3 separate regions of the Homo sapiens genome follow, and regions 2 and 3 are each linked to region 1. The links are contacts of gene promoters, found by promoter capture Hi-C in blood cells and fetal thymus (Javierre and others, 2016). All regions are on one chromosome and are shown on one strand. Each heading gives the region's core, a stretch centred on a gene start or on the middle of the fragment in contact. The rest is flanking DNA. Distances are from core to core; before and after follow the strand shown.

Region 1 (2,805 bases), core at 207-2,706:
GGGCCCTCAACTGGCCCCACTCAGGATGTCACAAGGCCCCGTGTGCTGCTGGAGGGGGTCCCAGGGTCGGTGACAGGCAGACCACAGCCTCTGGCCTGGAAGGAGGAGAGAGGGATTGGCAGGCCCATCCAGGCTGGGGGTCTGAGGAACTGTGAATGAGGCCGTGAACAGAGACCGCTGGGGTCCAGCAGGCCTGGCTGCAGAAGGGAAGCTCTGCGCAGTGGAAGGCAGGACCCGGTGGCAGCCCTGGGAGCAGGCCCCGCTGGCCCCTGGGAGAAGACCTCCATGGGCCTCAGCACGACACTCCTAGGCTGGCAGCCGAGGCCTGGTTCACGTGATCCCTTGATTTGTGTTTTCTGACCTTTCTTCACAGACACTCTAGGAAGCCTGGGGACACAGAGCCTGCCAGGGGAAGTCACACTCTCATGAAAGAGCTAGCCAGCAAGAAACTAGAACCGTGGACATGTAAGATAGGCACATGCGTGGCGAGTCCGAAGCGGGAAGCAAGCAGAGGGTGTGACAGAATACTGAGGGGGCCAGGGAATGGCTCTTCCAGAGGAGACTTCTGAGTGGGAGACAGGAGCAGGGGAAGGAGCAGCATGAGCTCTGGGAAGAAGGCATTTTTGGCAGCGAGCAATGCAAGTGCAAAAGCCCTGAGGCATGAAAAACACTAAAGAATCTGTAGGAGGCCAAGGTGGCCAAGCAAAAGGAGAAAGAGGGACTCCGGCAAGAGATGGGCATTTCTCAGGACTGCGGTGGCAGGGAAAAGAGAGCCCCCTGAAGGACATTCCACATTCAAACCCCTGCCCTGTGGTGACCCTGCCAGGTGGCTGGGTCAGGATCTTCCCTGTCAGGCCCAGGCCTCGTTTGCATGATGATGGGAGTAGCTTCCCACGGTCTGGGCTCTCCTTCCCCATGTTCTCCTGTTCCCCCAATTCCCATCACCCAGATTCCAGGAGCCAGGACTGGTGTCTCCCCTACTGGAGGTTCCCAGAAAGTCTCAGAACTCCCACTGCAGTCCTGGGACACAGGGGCTGGGGGAGGAAGGAAATTCTCACACAGCTTTCTCCCAGGGAGTTTGCTCTTGTTCCCAGGCTGACAACTGGCAACCCTCAGAACTCTGTTCCCCACCCCCTTCCTCCTCCTCCTCCTCCTCCTCCTCCTCCTCCTCCTCCTCCTCTCCCTGCCTCCCTCTCTCCCCTGCCCCCCTTCTCAGGCTTAATGACTTCCACATGGGCCTCTGGTGGCTGGAGCCAAGGCTCCCAGCATTGTCTGAAATCTCCAAATTTAGAAGAAATATGAAAATTGTCAACCACTCCTTCCTTAGGGGGTAAAAGCAACATTCAGCACCGGGGGCAGGTCAAGGCAAGGTAGTCACGTGGGGGGTGCCTGGGCCAATGGGGGGCCCTGGGAGGGCTCAGCACCCGCCTCGCCCCAATACGGGGCTTGCCTCTTCAGCTCATATAAGGTAAAAGGCAGAGTGGCCTCTGTGGCCAGGGAGCCGCAGGCAAGGGACTAAGGGGAGGGGGGCTCAGTGCCAGCTGCTTAAAAATGCCCCTGTGGCAGCGAGGGGCACCAGAGGCTGGGTCTAATTAGTTGAGAAGCAGTGACACCCCCAACCACTCCCCAAACAGGCTGGCTCCCGTCTCCAGGCCCCAAGGAGCCACACCTGGACCAGACCCCAGGAAAGGTAAGCACCAACGGCAGACCTGGGATCCGTGGGTGGGGGCCTCTGGGAATTTCCCTAGGGGGATGCTGCATCTGGGGGTCTTGCTGTCTTGCTAACTGGCTCTGTCCCTTTCTGGACACAGATTCTCTGGGTCTCAGTTTCCCCATCTGTACAGGGGCTGGAGTCAATGATCTCTAAGCATCCATCCAGCTGATCGGCTCTAGTTCTATGGTCCTGTTGGCTTCTAGGATTCCTTGTTGTTGTAGTCAATTGGGGGAAGAAGGTGCAGAGGGAGTGCACAGAGTTAACATCCTATCAGCCCAAGCTTCACCTCGGCACCCGAGTCTCAGGCAGTCTCCCTGGCTTCTACATAGGCAGTGCTTCTTCCTCATTGTGTGGGGCTTTGATTTTGTAATTCCAAGAGCCTGGGGCTCCTGGCAAGGAAAATGGTTTTCAAATAATGGTTTCGAGAAACAAAGCTGGGGAAGAGGCAATGTAAGCTCAGGCTCTGGCAGGCAGGCAGAGATCCTGGGAAGGCTGGGTGCTGACTGCACATGGAGCAATGGGAAGGGATGCTGGTGAGAGGAGACGGGGGCACTTAAGCTCCGGCCCCAGCTCTGCTCTCAGTGCCCGGCTCTGTGGTCTTGGGCTGGCCCCCTCCCTTCTCTGGGCCATAGTTTTCCCATCTGTATAGCAAGGCCATTGGACAAAATGGTCCCTCTGCAGATGTGGCTTCTGAGTTGTTTGTGCCTGAGGGACAGCCAGTGTTGGGAAGTTCCCCCAGGAGGTCCCTGAGCCGAGTCTGAACTTTGACCACAAGCTTGGAGTCCAAGCAGATGAAGTCCTGTGGGAGCTTTTGGAGGTTGAGCCTGAGTGAGGGAGAGTAGCTGAAGGTTCTGTGACTGAAGGCTTGGCCAGAGGGGTGCCCCGAGCCCTCCAGATGAACTTGGCTGCAACCAGCCTCTGGTGGGGAAAGGACTGATCTCTGGATTCAACCACACAGGAATGTGGGACATGGAAGTAGGTAAGGGATGGAAAAGATGGCAGAGGGCTTCGCGGGATGAAGCAGTGGGGCCAGGGGACTTAGAGGAATGCAGGAGGCTTGTGATGGGAGGCAGGGCTGGGTAGAGGCAGGG
Region 2 (2,805 bases), core at 89-2,588, 220 kb after region 1:
TATAAGATTGAATGCCTACTCTGTGCTAAGCACTCTGTTAAGCTCATTACATGCATCGTCCCCATTTTTCAGATGGGCAGATTGAGGCCCAGAGAAGTTAGATAACATGCTAAAGGTCCCAGCTAGTCAGTGGGAGTTAGACTGGAATCCAGGCCTGCATGCTTCCAAAGCCCCTTCTCACAGCCCCTGCCCTTTGCCACCTCCTTTCCCGACTCCCACGCTCATGTCTCCCCACAGAAGCAACGGCTAGAAGGCCTGGTGTGGCAGCCACTGTGCAGCCTGGCCAAAGCCCTGCTTGGCCCTCAGAACCTGATCAAGAAGCGTCTGGACAAGCTACTGGACTTTGAGCGGGTGGAAGAGAAGCTGCTGGAGGTGGGCAGTGTGACCTACCAGGAGGAGGCCGCCCGGCACACATACCAGGCACTCAACTCGCTGCTAGTGGCTGAGCTCCCACAGTTTAACCAGCTGGTCATGCAGTGGCTGGGCCAGATCATGTGCACATTCGTGACCCTCCAGAGGGACCTTGCAAAGCAAGTGCTGCAGAGGGCAGAGGGAAGCATGGCCCAGGTAAGGCCTCTGAGACTTGGACACCTGTGGGGAGTAGCCAGGCAAGGCCCTGCAGCCCCATCAGCCAGCTGTGTGTAGGGGCTAGGATGGAGGGAGGATGGGCCTGAAAACAGGTCATCAGGCCCTTAGGAAGAGGCAGTGGGAACCTTCCAGATCTCTCTCATGCCCAGTCTCCCTCTGTTAGTGAAGTCAGACCATGAAAGCAAGGATAGGACTGAGATTTCAGACCATTCCCAAGTCCTGCAACTCAGAAGCAGAAGAAGCTTTGCTCATACAATGGCAGATCTTGGGACTGATCTCTGGAGTGTACTAGAAGTTGATGACAGAGACAGAAGGTCGTTTCTACACAGTAAGGAGTAAATGTCTCAAGCCGGTGTTACTATTACTACTTCCAGCAGCCATCTTCTCATGAGTATTTAGGATGTACCTGTTTGGAGCACTCTCCATGCATGATCTCATTCAATCCTCACAACAACCCTACAGAGGAGGTATAATTATACTCATTTTAAAAATAAAGAAGCCAAGGCACGGAGAGGTAAAGTAGCTTGTCTAGGGCCACACGGCTAATAGCAAGCATTGAACTCTGACAGTTCAGCTCCAGGGCCTGGACTCTGAACCACAACACTCAAGAGCCTGTAAAAGGAGCTACCGGCTGAAAGCATAAATAGGTTCCACAGAGGTTTGGATAAACCTCCAAATGCAAACTTTGATTTTAGAATTTGGAAGACTGGAGTTGATACAAGAAAGAACACCCAACTGCTTCCAGATCTTGCTCTCAGATGTCAACATGAGAGCTGAATTGCTGTTGGGTCCCACCTTGGGAGCAATTTCAATACTCCTAATATCACACACTGTTTCCTGTGTGTCACAGTCTCCAGCTCAGCTTTTCCCCATCCAATTCTTTGCATGAAAACTCTACTAAGATTTGCCTTCCCCACCCCATCACCTTTCTAGCCCACAGCCCTCCCCTCCAGCACACAGCTGCTGGATGTGGCCACTCTGCACAGACACCTGCCTCAGCTTAGAATGCCCCTCTCCATTGTCCCTGAGCACTTTCAGTGTCTGGCATAGAGTAGGAGCTCCCCAAACAAGTGGCAGATGAATGAGTCTCTCCATGAAGCTCTCAGAGCTCCCCATCTCCTGAGGGGGAGAAGTCATCTCCCTATCCTCTGTACTCCAGCAGCCCTGTGGATGGAACTGTGCTTAGTACTTTTCAGAGCCTGCCTTCTGCTGCAGGAATCCATGAATGTGTTTCTCCTCAAGCATGGGGACTGGGACTGCAAGCTTTTTCTCTTTTTGGCCCTCACAGAGTTCTGTCCCAGACACTCTGCAAATTGAATTAGGCCTGAACCATCAGTAAAAGAACTGTCTCTTCCTTGAGGGCAGAAGAGTAAATCTGATGAGGTTATCTTTTCCCTCTCCTGTAGCCTAGAGGTTTTCTCTCTTGGGCTGCCCCCAACCCCTTGCATTAAATCTGGGATGTGCAGAGCTAGGGAGTGTTTGGGGATGCCAGTAGAGAGGTGGTCACGTTTATAAAAGCAGAAAGTAAGGGCGCTTCCTGATTGGTCCATCAGAGTCTGCTGGTGACAGCTGCCAGCCTGCCTTATCTGTGTCCTGTGGTCCATGCATGTGGCCTGTCCCTGTGGAGCCTGGAAAAGGCTGCAGGCAGAAACCTCAATCTCCCTGAATCCTGGTGGGAGGAAGGCTCTAGGTCAGCACTAAGAACAATGAGTTTGGTGACAAGCTGTGAATCTGGTGACAAGCTGTGGCATCTCACTCACTCCTAGGTTGTCTGACGAAAATGCAAGAGATCCTGCACAGGGTCAAGGTCTCAGGACAGAGTATCACTCAGAACTCCTTGGGTTGAAAATAATATAAACCCAAAGCAAGCCAGGGATCTCATTGTCCCCTCTTGCCCAGCTCTGTTGACAGTGTCTGTCCCCACTTAGCTGCCCCACCACCACGTCCCAGAGCCTGCCTTCAGGAAGCTGGTGGAGGACGCACTGGGCCGGACGAGTAACCAGCTTCGCTCCTTTCAAGAGACCTTTGAGAAAGTGCAGCCACCTCCCACCACACAAGTAAGCATCCTTCCTCCACCCCAAAGACTGTCCAGTTCTTCACTGGCCAGTAGGGTGAGGCTCCATCCATCCCCTCTTTCCTTTCCTTTTTGGTCCCCCAATGTTTCCTGTTATCCATGGAAATATGTTCTCTTCTCTCTCCTTTCTATTTGAGCTGGGG
Region 3 (2,805 bases), core at 93-2,592, 190 kb after region 1:
TCAATTCCCTGTTTGAGGGCCCTAGTGATTTCTTTTCCTCCCTTACAAGATCTGTCATGCAGTTAAAAAGTTTATTATAACTGATCTAGCATTCCTAAGTGTTTTGTAGTAGGAAAGTTTTTCAGATCATCTTGTCCATGGTATTGCCCTTTACGCTTTATTATTATTTTGAGATGGAGTCTTGCTCTGTCACCCAGGCTGGAGGGCAGTGGCACAATCTCGGCTCACTGCAACCTCCACCTCCTGGGTTCAAGTGATTCTCTTACCTCAGCCTCCCGAGTAGCTGGGATTACAGGTGTGCACCACCACACCCGGCTAATTTTTGTATTTTGAGTAGAAATGCGGTTTTACCATGTTGGCCAGGCTGGTCTCGAACTCCTGACCTCAGGTGGTTTGCCCACCTCAGCCTCCCAAAGTGCTGGGATTACAGGCGTGAGCCACCGCACCCGGGCCCTTGATACTTTATAAGTTAGAGATAAAGGATTGCAGGAGTTTCAGAGAAGAAAAGTGCAGCTGGTGGGAGTGAGAAATGAGGGGAGGATCAAGAGTAGCCTTAGAGAAGTGAATGCTGGGGGATAGGAACACAGGAGGGGGCATGGCAAGTGCAAAAGCAGGAAATGCCAATGCAAGTATGGAGAAGAGCGCTCAACTCTCTTTCCACTGCAGTACAACCTGTGAAGAGGAAATGAAGTTAGAGCCTGGAGTGCAGTCTGTGAAGGGGAAATGAGGTTGGAATCAGATCACTGAGCAGCAGGAAGCTACTAAAGTCTTACAGCAGGGCACACCATGTTCACAAGCTTTGTTTCAGGGAGTTTAAACTGGAAATGTGTCCAGAAAGAATGGGTGTGGTGGTGGCAGGAGAGCAGTGTGGATTAGGAAGGATGACTCTGAGGGCTGTGGAAATAGCCCAGGCGATGGGTAGTAAGGCCTAAATGGGGTAGCTGGTGGGATGGGGTGTAGGGGGACCACTGGGAGAGGGTGAAAGAGATTCAGCTGTACCAGATAAAGAAATCTAGGTCAAGAGCTGGATTGGAAATAGAAGAAAAGCCAGGCAAGCATGTTGTCTGGGTCCTGGGAAATGAATTCAAAATGTCAAGAATTATCTATTAAAAAAAAATTTTTTTTGTAAGAATCTTGCTCTGTTGCCCAGGCTGGAGTGCAGTGGTGTGATCTTGGCTCACTGCAACCTCTGCCTCCCGGGTTCAAGTGATTCTTCTGCCTCAGCGTATCTGAGTAGCTGGGACTACAGGAGCCCGCCACCATGCCTGGCTAATTTTTGTATTTTTAGTAGAGACGGGGTTTCATCATGTTGGCCAGGCTGGTCTCGAACTCCTGACATCAGGTGATCTGCCCACCTTGGCCTCCCAAAGTGCTGGGATTACAGGCATGAGCCACCACCTAAAATGTCAAGAGTTATCAGAGCTGTTACCTGCCTTTCAATATTGTTCAGGTACTGCCTACAAATGCTAATAAACAGTTCATCTTGACTCTGTTTGCAGCTTAAGATGTTTTTAGGCCTCTTGATGAGTAATTGTCATTGAATTAGAGACAGCATGTCCCAATAGTTCTTCCTGGAAGTGAGTGGGGATGCTTTTGCTTTTCCCAGAACCTGCTGACATGGCCAAGCATGGAGCCGACGAGCCATCCTCCAGGTCAGGGAGTCCGGACAGGGAAGGTAGGGCCTCTGAGGACAGATCGCTGCTTCATCAGAGGCTGGCTGTCCGGGAGCTCATCGACACTGAGGTCTCCTACTTGCACATGCTCCAGCTCTGTGCCTCTGACATCAGGAGCCGCCTCCAGCAGGTACTTGGGTGGGGTCACACACAACCTGTCTTTATAGGGGCAAATGTGGGTCCCAGCTTCTGAGATTTCTCATCCATTCCTGGGGCAAGCTTGACAGAAAGGAAGCGTGGTAGATGTGAAGTCTGACAGACCTGGATGTAAGCCCCAGTACTTCTTTTCCTTGGCCGTGCAACCTCCATCAAGGTCTTCCATGGCTTAGAGTCTTAGTGTATTCCTTGGCTAACTGGTGAGCGGAATAATCACTGGGAGACCTATGTGAGCTAATGAACAAGCCCTTTTCAAGTTTGGAACAGATTGCTTAAACTGACTCTTCTTCTTCTTCTTCTTCTTCTTCTTCTTCTTCTTCTTCTTCTTCTTCTTCTTCTTCTTCTTTCTTCCTCTTCCTCTTCCTCTTCTTCTTCCTCTTCCTCTTCTTCCTCTTCCTCTTCTTCCTCTTCCTCTCCTTCCTCTTCCTCTTCTCCTTCTTCTCCTTCTCCTTCTTCTCCTTCCTCTTCTTTCTTCTTCCTCTTCTTTCTTTTTCCTCTTCTTCTTCTTCCTCCTCTTCTTCTTTTTTTCCTGCTTCCCCTTCAAGGGTCTCTTTATTCGATCACAAAGTCACTGTCAGCGACTTGGCCTGGCCCTCTATGGCTTCCAACAAGGAAATGCTTAAAAGTCAGGAAATGCATTTGCTGCCTTTCCTAGTACCAAAAATTGACTACAACCTCTTTGGGTACCCTGAGATAAATCAATAGCATTTGCTTTTTCTTTACTTTTCTAACAGAATTCCAGAAAAAATAAATCTCATATATATATATCTATATATAGATATAGATATAGATATAGATATATAGATATAGATATATAGATATATATATGTGTGTGTGTGTGTATATATATATGTATATTTATATTTATATACACACATTCATATATAGAGAGATCCCTCAATCAAGAAGAGGCAAAGGATCCAGCATCCTCTGAGGTGCCCCTTGGCCTGGTGCAGGAAGGCCAGGAGGCACCAGC

The links. Contacts are between HindIII fragments. The CHiCAGO score rates a contact against its expected background, and 5 or more counts as called.
Region 2: a contact is called between a fragment that was not itself captured here and the fragment with the promoter of CARMN in region 1, in 3 of 17 cell types (endothelial precursors, M0 macrophages and M1 macrophages). The highest score is 6.1, in endothelial precursors.
Region 3: a contact is called between a fragment that was not itself captured here and the fragment with the promoter of CARMN in region 1, in 5 of 17 cell types (M1 macrophages, megakaryocytes, M2 macrophages and 2 more). The highest score is 7.8, in M1 macrophages.

Annotation. Positions count from the first base shown.
Region 1 is chr5:149,405,389-149,408,193 of GRCh38, forward strand. It overlaps CARMN (cardiac mesoderm enhancer-associated non-coding RNA), which reads left to right and starts at 1,457. Exons shown (of 5, transcript NR_105060.1): 1 at 1,457-1,690. RefSeq lists enhancers at 1-95, 1,946-2,805. The HindIII fragment of the contact is 6,163 bases long and covers 1-1,992 here.
Region 2 is chr5:149,621,496-149,624,300 of GRCh38, forward strand. It overlaps ARHGEF37 (Rho guanine nucleotide exchange factor 37), which reads left to right. Exons shown (of 13, transcript NM_001001669.3): 9 at 238-567; 10 at 2,517-2,645. Among named protein-coding and RNA genes, the nearest start is that of ARHGEF37, 41 kb to the left of the region's middle. The HindIII fragment of the contact is 1,021 bases long and covers 829-1,849 here.
Region 3 is chr5:149,596,153-149,598,957 of GRCh38, forward strand. ARHGEF37 (Rho guanine nucleotide exchange factor 37) reads left to right here. Exons shown (of 13, transcript NM_001001669.3): 2 at 1,607-1,803. The coding sequence starts at 1,618. Among named protein-coding and RNA genes, the nearest start is that of ARHGEF37, 16 kb to the left of the region's middle. The HindIII fragment of the contact is 1,095 bases long and covers 796-1,890 here.